Linked DNA regions of Homo sapiens: region 2 is linked to region 1. Evidence: promoter capture Hi-C in human tissues and cell types (Jung and others, 2019). All regions are on one chromosome and are shown on one strand. The core of a region is centred on a gene start or on the middle of the fragment in contact, and the rest is flanking DNA. Distances in the headings are between cores, read along the strand shown. Region 1 holds the start of CHST10 (carbohydrate sulfotransferase 10). Region 2 overlaps LONRF2 (LON peptidase N-terminal domain and ring finger 2).

The links. Contacts are between HindIII fragments. The study calls those that stand out against the background at their distance.
Region 2: a fragment that was not itself captured here is called in contact with the fragment with the promoter of CHST10 in region 1 in 1 of the 25 tissues and cell types used here (IMR-90 fibroblasts).

Annotation. Positions count from the first base shown.
Region 1 is chr2:100,412,250-100,419,092 of GRCh38, forward strand. CHST10 (carbohydrate sulfotransferase 10) reads right to left here and starts at 5,419. Exons shown (of 7, transcript NM_004854.5): 1 at 5,125-5,419; 2 at 2,792-2,862. RefSeq lists an enhancer at 1-229 and silencers at 4,915-5,064, 5,075-5,524. The HindIII fragment of the contact is 6,609 bases long and covers 629-6,843 here.
Region 2 is chr2:100,283,684-100,290,714 of GRCh38, forward strand. LONRF2 (LON peptidase N-terminal domain and ring finger 2) reads right to left here. Exons shown (of 12, transcript NM_198461.4): 10 at 6,575-6,737; 11 at 3,231-3,380; 12 at 1-809. The coding sequence ends at 615. Among named protein-coding and RNA genes, the nearest start is that of LONRF2, 35 kb to the right of the region's middle. The HindIII fragment of the contact is 5,305 bases long and covers 2,539-7,031 here.

The sequences.
Region 1 (6,843 bases), core at 4,169-6,668:
TCATCTCTGGCTGTGGCTCTAGAAGCCAGCGGATGAGCTACGAGGATCCACATTATCTGGTGTGGTGGGTTTTGATGAATCCTAAAGAGTGGTGTGCCCAGCTAAGCATGGTGTCATTTGCTTCGGGATTATGTGCCTTCTGAATCTAGACATCTACCTGAAGGTGTCTGGCTTTATGTCTGGGGCGGTACCTGGGAAACTTCCAAGAAATACAGTGATACCCCGGGCCCCAAGAATACCCCAGCCAAGACAACACAAATCTCTGGAGGCAGTACCCAGGCATTTTTTAAGAGCTCTGTTCGTGACTCTAATGAGCAGCTGGGACTGAGAATTGCTGGTCCAGGACCTCACCCCTTCTTAAATTTTAATGCCTACATGAATCCCCCTGGGGATCTTGTTAAAATGCAGACTCTAGGCATTCTGGCATAAACGCCATTCTCCCACCACCTCCTTCCATCTTAAGAAGGAAAATTGGCAGCAAAAAAGCATCTAGTCAACGAGAGTCTATTGATGCTCTGAATTACAAGTGTTCCAAATACACAGCTAAAAGAGGTTTAATTAGAATCTAAGACCTTCCATCACTGCCTTCATCTTACTCTCCTTTACAGCCCTCCCATCTACGGTTAACTAGACTCTGTAGAATCAGGCTTTGTCTGACTTTGGAAAACAACACAAAACTCTGCCCCATTTTTTTTTAAAAGAGAGGCATTCCAAATTCACTTCACCCCAGCTCCTCTAAGTCCGCCCCATTCTCTGCATTGTTTCCTTGAATACAGAATTTCACCATGGGGTTTGCCTCCTATCTGAGGATGACACCACCAAGGCTCATTATTTCTGTCTACAAGAGGACTGCGGCCTGACATAAAGAGTCTTTCCTCAGGGCTCTGCCAAGGGCTGCTGCTCTCCCTACAGCTAGGGGACAAATGGCCTTTAAAAAGCCTGGCATTTTCTGTAATTAACTCCCCTTTGTTCAAGGAGCCAAGACAACTCTCAGAGTGCCTCTAGAGCTAATGGTGGGAGCAGAACCTGAGCCCCTACACGCCCTCCCTTCGGTCATGGCGCAGGCCCTGAACAGAGCCTCCTGACCCCTAGAATCTGCATATCCATCTTCAGAGCTTTCCTACTTCCAGTCATTAAATGGGATTTTCACAAGTCAAGATGTCAGGATCTGAAACCAAGCCAGAGGGTTTGGTTCCTCAGTTCAACCCACAAGGATGAACTGGCAGCTGAAGAACTTAAGGCCTTATGGGGAAAGCAGGGTCAGGGAAGGAAGAATCTACAAGAAGCCCTAATCTTCCCCCTTCCCCACCTTAAATAAAAGATAAATAGCACACATTGTACATGTTTGTAATAACTAACAATGGAAATGTTACTATTACCATCTCTTGATGCAAATCCTTCCTCCCCTGCATTTTGAAAAGGAAACTTGTAAATTCATTTTGCTCAGCTGCCAATACCATTCCCGCCAGCAGCTTTTCCCCATGTCTGAGTTGTCATCCAGAAGCACAGCGCCTTTCTTACTCTGCTGATGAGTTTGCCTCCCACCTGCCAGGCCCCACTTTTAATATGCGCATTCACTTACTAAAGTTTCTGAAAAGTCCCATGGTAAATAAGCCCACTTAACTCTGCTTAACCAGGCTTTTTCCAGACATTTTTTCATTCAGCAATATTTACCAAAGCCCTCCTCTGAGCCGGGGCTGTTCTAGGCCCTGGGGATATAGCAACACACATTCCCTGCTCTCACAGTGCTTCCTACTAACAGACATAGACGGGCCATAAACAAATCAAGTGATCAATGTATATGATCAAGCCAGGTGACAGGTGCAGTGGCTAATAAACAAGGGCATGGGCAGGATGTTGAGAAAAGGCAGGACAGATTGTGGGAGCAAGCCATGCAGACCCCTGGGCAAAGACTGTGGTCTGGGTCCCAGAATTCCAAAAGTGGCAAGAAGGCCAGTGTTCCTCATGCAGAGTGGGCAAGCAGGGACAGGGGTGGGTCAGATGAGGAGGCCTGTCAATGGCCCTTTACTGACAACCTCACCTCATACACATACCAGGGATCACATGTCCAGGGCTCAACTTTTAAAACACAGCCAGACTCTAAAGGAAACTTCACACACACACACACACACAAAAACCTGGTAATGTACAAGGAACTGGTAACCCCAGGAGGATGACAGGTGAGATGAGAACTAGACAGACCAGGGCTGCAGAAACGGGGACATTTCACCATCAACCCTGAGCACATTCTGAACTACAATGCATTACCCTATCAATAGAATCATTAAATTACAACTCCATAATGCAAAGTGTGGCATATGAATTTATACTATAAAGTTCTATTGCATGTCACTGAGACTTTCAAATTCATAGTAAAGGTTTCTCTCAATCTGCGTACAGAAATTTCCTTTGTCTTCTCTGTTGTCATCCTTACAATTTACCGCCTTGGAACGATTAACCACCCTTAGTTAGGAGAATGAAAACACTCTTAACTGTCCAGTGAGAAATACACCTGTAGTTAAGACAGGTTTTCATGAACAATAATAATAATATACAGTAAACACCTGTATGGGGTTCACTCTGTACCAAGCACAGGTCTCAGCAGGTACTAACTCACATAATCCCAGCCTCAGAGCATGCTCCTATTATTATATTTAAGGAAACGTTTCTAAGCACACATTTACATACTCCTAATCAAGAGTTTACAATCTGCACAGGCAAGAAAAAAGGCAGGAACAATACTGAATGGCATGCTCAAATAACTGATGAGCTCACATTCTCCTTCACGTACCTTCTGCAGCCTGGGGCTCACATTTCCTTGCTGTGTTTCCCCTGAACTGAGGTTCTTGGTTCCTCTTGTCACTGGATAGGAAAATTAAAAAAAAAAAAGCATTATTAAAAGTTACAAGATCAACTTACTTAATACAACTTGGTTTATACTTAGGAAGGAAATAGTGAACCATTTTGATGATTCAAATATATTTGGCAGAATGGGTCTCTTACAAAGGCAGGTTATATTTGGATTTCTTGGTAAATGAATATTCTAAATGTACCAAAACCACTAGCTGTTTAAAAGACTCTTCCATGTAACTTAGTGTGAAAAATGAAACATTTTTTGTAGCAAAAATAATCAAATCCAATTATGCCTGTTTCGTATGTTTGAAATAGTTATAGGATTCCTATACAAGATGATCAATTCTTCCAATGCAAAATGTTCTCTGGATTTTCGTACTCCTTACACCTTTAGCACCTGGAAAATTTTAGCCAAATGCCATATCATAAAAAACCAGAAACAAGCCAAAGTCATGGAATTAGATCATGGATTTAGGAGATCTACCAAAATAAACATACAACTCATTTAACATACAATAAAGCCCAAGCTGACTGGGACACATGCAGCACGGTCTCTCTCTGCCTCCCTTTACTCTAAGAACTCAATGCTAAAATTAAAAGCAATTTCCTATTATGTTGATTGAAAGATTAAGCTTTATATACAGTCATTCATCACTTAACAATAGGGATACCTTCTGAGAAATGTATCGTTAGGCGATGTTCTTCTGCAAACATCAGAGCGTTCTTACATAAACCTAGATAGTACAGCTAACCACACACCTAGGCTATATGGTACAGCTGACCACACACCTAGGCTATATGGAATCATCTATTGCTCCCGGGCTACTAACTTGTACTGCTGTTACTGTACTGAATACTGTAAGCATCTGTAATACAATGGTAAGTATTTGTGTATCTAAAATTAGAAAAGGTAGAGTAAAAATAAGGTAGTATAGTCTTATGGGACCACTGTTGTATATGTGGTCCATCATTGTTAGAAACATCATGTACGGCATTTGATGGTCCTCACATCCAGGTTATCCAGAAGTGTATGAAAAGAAAATGAACTCCTGGGTTTCTGCAATCTCTAAGGTCCTGCAACCACCTCTCTCCCCTGTTTCTATTCCTGGCTCTCTCTCACCTTTTTATTGTATGAACTCCTCAAACACTGAAAAATGATCCGAATATAACTGCAAGTTGCCTGTGATGTTTACAAATTCTTTCCTTTCTTTGTTCAGTTTTGCAAACACTCCAATTTTCATTTCAGCGAAGAAGAGAATTTTCTGCTCAGGTATTTCTTTGAGATTCTATTCTTCAGGGTCAAGAGCAATTCTGAATTCTGAATTCCAATTCTGAGCCAAGATGGACTAAGCTCTTAATTATAATGGGGAGGGAAGGGAAAAGACCACTTCTCTCTTTGTGTCTTTTCATTTTAACCCAGTCACTGAAAAGAGTGAAGGAGGAGGTGGTTGGTTATCAGAGAGCCAGAGCTAAACTGAGCTGCCTAATTTTAACAGCGTCTGAGACATTTCTCACTCTGGCACTCTAAGCAATGCAATAACCCAACTCCTCATGGCCCAAAGCCCCAGACTCTGGTTTTCAGACAAAACAACAACAACAACAACAACAACAAAAACCCACCGTTATGACAGTCCTGCCGCTGAGCTAACCAGAACCTGGCTGCACTACTTTCCATTCACTGCCCAACCCTTTCCTGCCTTGCAGACTTGGAAAGCAAAAATGACATTTTGGAAAACCTGGTTCACCTTCCCAGCCAGAAGTGCAGAACTGCATGCCTCAACCTCCAACTTCGGACAGGCCTCCTGACAGCGAAGATCAGAGGCTCAGGGCACCCCGGGGCCCCTCAGGCAGGGAACGTGCATTCCCACCCCTGACTCCCCTCGCACCGAAGCTGCACATGCTCCTTCTTCCCTGCCTTCCTCTGCATGCTCCTTGGACCCAAGCTGAACCCTTTCTTCCTCTCTCCATCTACAATTACAAACGCAAATTCTCAGCCAAGGATGAAAGAAGTAAATTGTAGGCTCGCACAATATCAATAATTCCGCGGGTCACAGCATCCCGCACAAGGACGCCTTCTTATTGCATAATTAACGCGAGGAAGGCTCTTCCCGCTACTCCCGCGAACTAGGGAGGTCTTCAAGTCGCCAAAACACACCGGGATGTGGCTCGCCAGGACAAAACCCGCGGGTTCCCCGGTTTTTCCGTGCGCCCCGCGGCGGGGAGAGGGGCCCAGGCGCTGAAACCCACCCGCCTGCGCGTCCCCGAGCTCACCCTACTGGAGCGGCGCTCGTCCGGGTCCTTAGGCTCCTCCCCTGGCCCTGGGGGCGCCGCGCGGGTCGGGCTTCGCCGGGCCTGTGGGCGAAGCGCGCGGGGTCCTGGGAGCTCGGGAGGCCCGCCCCACCTTGCCCCGAGGCCTCCGCGCCGCGGCCCGTCGGGTCCCGGGATGTGGCGGCGGCGGCAGCGGAAGTAAGGAAGACGCCCGGCGCGCTAGACCGGCTTTGGGGGCCAGAACGCCGGCACCGCCTCACGCGGCCCCCTCGCGCCTATCCGGCCGTGCGCGCCGCCTGCCCGCGCGCGTCCCCGCCGCCGTCCCCGGCCGTGCGCGTTCCAGCGGGTCGCGGGGAGTGGGGAGGGGCGCGGCCGCGGGACCCCAGGCCCGGATCCCGAGTCTCCCTTTCTGCCGCTGCAAAAGCGTTCTTTCTGACCGAGACCTGCGGCCGGAACAAGTCCCGCTGGGCCTCCATCCAGAAAACAGGTTCGCTTTTTGAGAAAGAAAAAAAATCCCAAACTTGGAAAAAGGCAAAAAACCAAACCAAAACAACAACAAAGTCACACACACACACAAAACCACCTTGGAAAAATACAAAAAATAGATAAGTAAATTTCTTAAATCCCCAACTTGGAAAAAGGCCACTTGCTTGCGTTAAGGGTAACTTCTAGCATTTTCTAATAAGCCTACTTAGTAAAAGGGGGACGTTCTATTCTTTAAAGAACCCCCTTGGCTGTCCGGGTTGGGGATGTAACTGTTGTCTAGGTACAGTGGATTAACGAAGGACAATGATAACGGCCTGACCAGTTTACAGACCTGAAGAATTGTAACTTCTTAACCTGCAGAAATGGATAAGGCCTGAGTCAACCTCAAAGGTATTGGGATTTTATTGCCCCAAAGAAGATAAACTAGTTTTATTTTTATACAACCTACATGTTTGTTAACTACCCGACTATATCTGTGTCTATTTAGCAAACAAGTAAAATAGATACGTGTATGTATACACACACACACACACACACACACAATTTTTCAAAGCTTTCAAGGAACAAGCGTTTTTGTTTTTGTTTTTTTTCTTTTTTATTGGTTCCCTCCTTAATGAGTTAATAATATTGAGGGAGCTGGCTGTTTGAGTATTTCACTTCTAGCCCCATTACTAATCATGGTTTAAAGGTTCTGTCCCTCATGCAGAAGACGTTTACTGAGCCCTTTTTTGGGGCCCTGTGGTTGAGATGAGACATTGGGTTTCCCTTTGAGGATTTGAATCGATACACGTGCACGGCAGAAAAGAAGTAAGTAAATGTGAAGCTTGGATGTGATGCAGCATATTATGCAGGATTTAAGGATCAAGGCTCTGGGAATCAGACCACGTGGATTCAGAGCCTTAGTCACTGCATATGACTGTTGACCTTGTCACACTCTCATCTCTCTGTGTCCCAGTCTTCTCATCTACAGAATGTGGTACTAGGCCGGGCGTGGTGGCTCACGCCTGTAATCCCAACATTTTGAGAGGCGGAGGTAGGTGGATCACCTGAGGTCGGGAGTTCGAGACCAGCATGACCAACATGGAGAAACCCTGTCTCTAATAAAACTACAAAAAAAATTAGCCAGGAGTGGGGGCACGTGCCTGTAATCCCAGCTGCTCGGGAGACTGAGGCAGGAGAATTGCTTGAACCCAGGAGGCGGAGGTTGCGGTGAGTCGAGATCTCGCCACTGCACTC
Region 2 (7,031 bases), core at 3,941-6,440, 130 kb before region 1:
ACAACACCTGGGACTACAACAGGACATTAAACACAGTTCTATCCAGAGGCTACTACTTCTTGGGTAAGGACTAGTTTGGGCTCCTGCACTGAACAATGGTGTGATTATTCGATTTCACAGACAACTTCACAGCAACACGCAAAGCCTAAGCGTAGTTTTGGTTAGCCTGTGTTCTAAGAAATCCACTTCCAGATAAAAACGTGGTTCCCCCATATTGTCTACACACTAAAGCACGCCTTTACCATCTGGCAGAGCCAGATGCTGACTGGGAAGTGAATCCTTCTTTCTCGTGAAACCCAAACCACATGTAAACCATCTGCAGGGTCCTGTGCTGTCAGTGAACTGCATTCCCCAAGCACCTGCTTCTAAGAGATTTTCTTAGGTTGTTTTCCAACTATGGGCTCCATTCAGACTTCAGGCTAACCTCACACAAGGTCAGATCCCACCAGACACAGAATTGTCATTTTTGAGGAGGACTCAATGTTTGGCAAGCGTCCCATTTTGGAACCTCATCCACAAGCACTTGATGAAGCACAATGAATGGACGGCTATTCGTCCATGCCTGACATTTATAAAAGCACAAGGGCTGCCAGAAACCTTGACAGAGAGAAAAATCAATTATTTCTCTCCCTGGCATTAGCCAGCTCTTGCCGACTATTCATCTTACGCGTGATGATGACTAATATCCGTCGGATGGCAAGGAGCCGCTCTTTGAGCGAGGTCATGCCGAGGATGGCCAGCTGAGCCTTGCGCTCCAGGGGCAGCACGGCCAGGATCCACCAGGACCAGGCAGGGCCGCTGGGATTACTCTGCAAAAGAGATGAGGGGAAAGCAAGGTTAACACTGGAAATGCAAGCCTGTTCCCCAACACAGTCTTTTGCTCCACCAACAGACACGTGAGCAAGAATTAAATGCCACCTTGTATTTTAGGGCTAATTCACAATTCATTCAGCTCTCAAAATACATAGTTTACTTTTATGGTACACATTTAAAGGTGGGGGAACTCACAAAAGGAAGAGCCTGCAAAGAGAAGCATCTTCCATGGGGAGATTCTATGAATTAGTTGCTTCTGTTCTCTCAAGCTTTCAGTTAAGAGTATATACCAGTCAGAGGAGAATACTATCACTTTAACCTTCACTTTCCAATGTTCTGTGCTATTATTTTTTATGTCTTAAGCATGCCATATAAAGCATAATATTATAAAGGCTAAAAGTATGTGTACAAGTTTGAGTGACATACTCAATGTGGCAAATGAGTGTATGTATGAAACATATATATGTATGCATGTCATATGCAAGAGTTATCATAAATTATATATATAAGAATTATTATGCCACCAAATAACCTTTATTTCACATAATCAAACAAAGCACTTCTAGACTAAGTGCTAGGCAAAAGCCGATCATAAACTCGTTCTCAATATTCTTAGTACTGGAACCAAGATATCCAGGCCTTTTTGTTTCCAGGGTCTAGGATTCTTCACTCTATTCCTTCTCCAAAAATGTGCAGGATGCCGATAAGAGCTGGGAGGGTGAACTCTGGAGTCACCTTAGTTTAGGGTGAGGTAGATTATGCTGGAGGACTAGGAATAGCACTGTGGCCAAAGCTCACCAGGGGTAGCCCAAGTCACTGTGAGGAAGACATCAACCTGCCCTTCAGAGGTAGAAAGGCACAGATGGAGAAAACAACCTTTTATACAGATTCACACTCTTTTCCCTGCCTCATCTCACAGAGAAAGAAAAAAACTGAGTAGCACGCTTAATGGGAAGGACCTCATATAAAAATTGATGTATTACCTAAAATCCCTCTGTAGTCATGAGAAAAATGGTCCCCCATATGGTACCTTATATGGCAGAGGGAATTGGAGGATGTGATTCAGTTAAGGACTTTGGGATGGGGGGATTATCCTGATGGGCCCAATGTGTTCATATAGGGTCCTGTCTGGGCTGTGGTCAGAGGGACATGTGGCTTTGGAAGAACGGTCGGAGAGAAGCAACATTGCTGGCTCTGATGGAGGAAGGAAGCCGAGGAATGCCGCCAGCCTCTACAAGCTGCAGAGACAAGGAAACAGACTCTCCCCCACAACCTCCAAAGAGAAACGCATGCTGCCATCACCCTGATCATAGTCTGGCCTGCAGAACCAGGAGTGAAAGATAATACATATGTGTTGTTTTAAGCCACCACGTTCGTGAAATTTCTTAACAGCAGTAGTAGGAAGCTAATATACCCGCCAAGTAGAGATTGATTAATTTGGTTAATAAACAACAACTCCTAGGAAAAAGAATGACTCATATCCTAATGCAAGTCAGTGTAACCACCATGCTTTCTGAATCTGAGTTCCAGGATACTGCAGAACAAAGGCTTATGCAAAAAGGGCAAGCCAGGAAGGACTTAATGGCAATTTCTGGCAGTTAAAGCATTTTTCTGTGTTTGGAAAAAAAAAGAATTCAGGCAGGGGGTAAAAGATAGAAGCTCCAAGAGACAGAAAAAAAAAGTTAAAATGGATGGGAAAAGACCTTTCACATCACCCTAAACCAGCTGAGAGCCAATCCCCCTCCCCTACTGTCTTTGACAGCTGAGCATCCATGTACAGGTGGGAGGTATACACTCTCAGGCACAATCTTAAACCAGCCCAGCCTGGCTCTCCCATCTAATGCAGAGGAGAGGCCCACCTGAGCTTAGAAATGCTCCACAAACCTAAGCTCATTCATTGCTTAAAGAACCAGCTTCACCAAAAGTACTTGTAGGGAGCACCAGAGAAAGCCCATGACAGCTGGGCAGCAGGGTACTTAGAGGACAAGGAAGTCACGCTACTAATGTCACAAGAATGATGGGATTTTTCTCTTCACTTATTCAACATCTCTATACCAGGTGCAAGGCAATGCTATGCGCCAAACGTGGAATGTTCATGCCAATACAATAAAGTTACTACTTAAATTTTAAGATGTGAGTGAAAGAAGCAAAAGGCTACAAAAGCTGACAGCCAAGCAGAATAAACTGATTGTTGTTAGAAAAGAAATTATGTTCTGTTAGAGAGCCTTTGTTGTTTTGCTTCACAAGTCATGTGCTACCACAGTAGGTGCTCCTTTGGGCTGTTAGTAGATGAACTGGTTCATAAGCAACCACATTGGGGTAACCAGCATCATACTGCCAAGCTCTCCACCAGAATGATGGCTCAGCACACTACAGCAGGAAGTAACAGAATTATAAAGGAAAAAGGGAGGGCATACCTGAGGCTCAGGTTCTCTGTCTGGCATTACCCCAAAATGACTTAAAATTTGTTCTTTCATGCGATCCTGGAGAGACGCGAACCAGGAAACAGACTGTTGATGCACAGAATCGTGGAGAGCGGCAAGTTCTTCATACTCTGGACCCTCCACCTGATCAGGGAAAGAGGCACAGCTGTGTGAACCATTCACAGTAATGCACGTAACACAGTCAGCGACCTCTGCACCTCCACTAAGTGGATTTGTGGCAGTTAGCATTTTAATAATTCATCAGTTTCACAAAAATGGTACATGCTCAATATAGAAATCTGCATTTTTTGCATAGTTGAAATCTATCAATTGTATCCTGATTTTTCTCTTAATACCATAATATAAGCACATTTCCTGTAATTTTGAATAATGTTCAATGGCTGCATGCAATTATATATTTGAGATACATGCCAATTTACTTAACTATTCACGTAAGTTATTTAGAATATTCTAGCTTTTTTATTTTTAAAAATAACACAATAATATAAACATTTATGGAAAAGTTGTTTTGTTTTGTTTTGCTTTTTTGACAAGGGAGGGAGGTATGGTTTCCTCAGTGTAGTTTCCTAGAGACCTTGACAGAATTACCAAGTCAAAGGGTGACATTTTAAAAATTGTATTCCATATCACCAAACTATATTCCTAAAGGCACGACAGGGCAAGACTACACTCATTACATTGGCCTGGGCTGATGGACTCCAGCTTGTGGTCGGCCACAGCACCTTAGACTGACCAAGCTTGGCCTCTGGTCCCTATGTCACTATCACATCTGTCATTTAAATTACGCCTCAGTCCTGTTCAGGAACACCTGGTAGAGGAGGAAGAGCATGGGACTGGGAATCACGGGGCCAGGGTTTGGTCTGGCTTCATCACCAACTCTCATGTGTGAATCTAGCCAGTCTCACAGCCTCGTTAGGGCAGAGTTTTCTCATCTGCATAATAGGAATAAACCATGAAGGTCCTTTCCTGTTACAAAATTCCAGTACCTACAAAAACTACGGTGTGCTGAGAAATTATAATATAATGCATATACCACCCTCAATTTGATTTATACAAATCAAATATTCATATGTGATAGAGGATTTTCTTATAAAAATAAGCTAAAATTATTTCATGTTGTAGCTATTTAAGCCCCCATTTAAAATAAGCGCATACACTATTAAAAGCTGTCATCTACAACAACGGTCAATAAACCCTGCCGTCAGGTCTATCCATCCCACAGAGAGACCCTGAGAATTATCACTTTCAGCTGTAGCTTTGAAACCCAGCTTTCTGGTCCAGCCTGGGAGCTGGGCTCCCTGCTCTGCTCCCATGCACTGGGATGACCAGAAACAGCAGCTGGAGGAGGCACAGAGACAGTGTCCTGGGTGTGACTCCATTCACAAATCCTAAGTGTACACCACTGCCCCCAAAATGACTTCCAGTGTGATGTGGGGTGGCTACGTACCCTCACTTCCACAATTCCAAATGTCAACCAAAGAATTTAAAAGAGGGATACAATAATTCCAAGGATTTCCTCCTTTTAAGTATTTTAAAATTTCTTGCTGCAGTATAATTTACAGACCAAAAAGTGCATAGATCTTGTTGAGCTCAAAGAGTTTTCTCAACTGTATACACCAGTCTGACCATCACCCAAAACCAGATAGACATTTCCACTACTTAGAAAGATTCTTCACCACTCCCTCCAGTCAATTACAAAGCCAACCCCACAAGCCTTTTCTGACTTCTGTCCCCAGACTCTAGTTTTGCCTGTTCCTGGAAGTATACAGATGAAGCCACGCGGTATGTGTTCGTCCTGTGTCTGGCTTCTCTCACTTAGCATAATGTCTGTGAGAGTCATCCATATTGTTTCATGCACGAGTGGTTCATTTCTTTTTATTGACAGGTAGTATTCCATTGCATGAATGGACCACAATGTGTTTACTGACTCAAGTGTGATCAGCACCTGGGCTGTTCCTGGTTTGGGGCTATAATGGAGTAAGACTGTTATGGACATCCTTGTGTAAGTCTGTTGGAGAATCTCTCAAAACATTTTGCTAATTTGTCAAATTATATGTCCTGATATTTCTATTAGACACATGAAAAAATTCTTAAGGGTTAATAAATTCAAGTCTTTTATATTTAGCTTTGGGAGGTATTTTTTAAGTTGTAGATTTTGTCACATTCTGAATTAATACCAACCTAGAGAACAGGGACTGACAGACTGCTGTTCATGAGTCAAACCGTGCTCACCACCATGTTTCCGGAAGTCACATTTAACGGAAACCAGTCATGCTCATGCCTTTACACATTGTCTATGGCTGCTTTTGCACTACAAGGGCAGAACTGGGTAGCTTCGACAGAGACCACATGGCCTCTGGAGTCTAAAGTACTTATTAGCCGGCCCTTTACAGAAAAAGTTTGCCAGCTCCAGGGCTACAGCATCAAATACAAATCAAAAGCCTATTTTGCAATGCGCAGGTTTACATGTTGCATAAGTACAATAAGGTCTTTTTTTTTTTTTTTTTTTTTTTGAGATGGAGTCTTGCTCTGTCGCCCAGGCTGGAGTGCAGTGGCACGATCTCAGCTCACTGCAACCTTCAGCTCCCAGGTTCAAGCAATTCTCCTGCCTCAGCCTCCCAAGTAGCTGGGACTACAGGTGCCCGCCACCACACATGGTTAATTTTTTTATATTTTTAATAGAGCCAGGGTTTCACCGTATTAGCCAGGATGGTCTCAATCTCCTGACCTCGTGACCTGCCCACCTTGGCCTCCCAAAGTGCTGGGATTACAGGCGTGAGCCACCATGCCTGGCCAGATCATTTTTTTAAAAGGAGATTTCTGTACCAGCTCCCAACTCAGGTAAAAATCCACTGAGAAAATAAATAACTGCTGAAGGCAGGGGCTCATGCCTGTAGTCACAGCACTTTGGGGCTACTACACTTTGGTTGAGGTGGGAGGACTGCTTGAGCCCAGGAGTTTGAGACCAGCCTGGGAAACACAGGGAGACTCTGTTTCAACGACAAACAAAATTTAAATTAGCCATGTGTGGTGGTGTGCACCTACAGTCCCAGCTACTCGGGAGGCTAAAGCAGGAGGATCGTTTGAGCCTGGGAGGTCAAGGCTGCAGTGGGCCAAGATCATGCTGCTGCACTCTAGCCTGCACGACAGAACAAGACCTTGACTCAAAAATAAACAAATAGATAAATAAATAACTTAAGTGATGAATTAAGGACTTAAGTAATATTGTCAGTACAAGTTTGACAAAGCTTTTCCACAATGCAAAGGGAAGCGAGAGGACCGACTGCTATAAAATACACCAGTATGATAAGCCTTACCTTTTCATCTTCAAGATATTCAATGTCCGCTGTGTTATAGCCATCTCTGTGGCGGTGGCTTAGCACTCGGAACCGACTGATGCCAATCGCGTCTACAACAGAACTTCCATCAGGAAACGTTCTCACGTCCTTAATCTCCAGCATGCATCCATACTCTGAAAGCCTGAAAAGACAGTTAGGAGAAATGACTGTGATTTTTAAAATGCAGGGGGCCTTCTTTTTCCCTGGATGAGAGTTTACTTTTAAAAGGAATACAAAGCCACACAAAACAGTGTCTCCACATCAGACCAGCAAGGTTATTGTCGCTAAGAGACACGTGCACATGGTCGCTTCTGTTAGATGTTAAATATAGTGGTGATGGTGGCTGCAGGGGAAGGGCTCCAGGTGAGACAGGACTTGTGCCTTAGCGGTTCCAACGGGCTAGTGTTTTGGGAAGGACCCGAGAGATGGGAAGAGA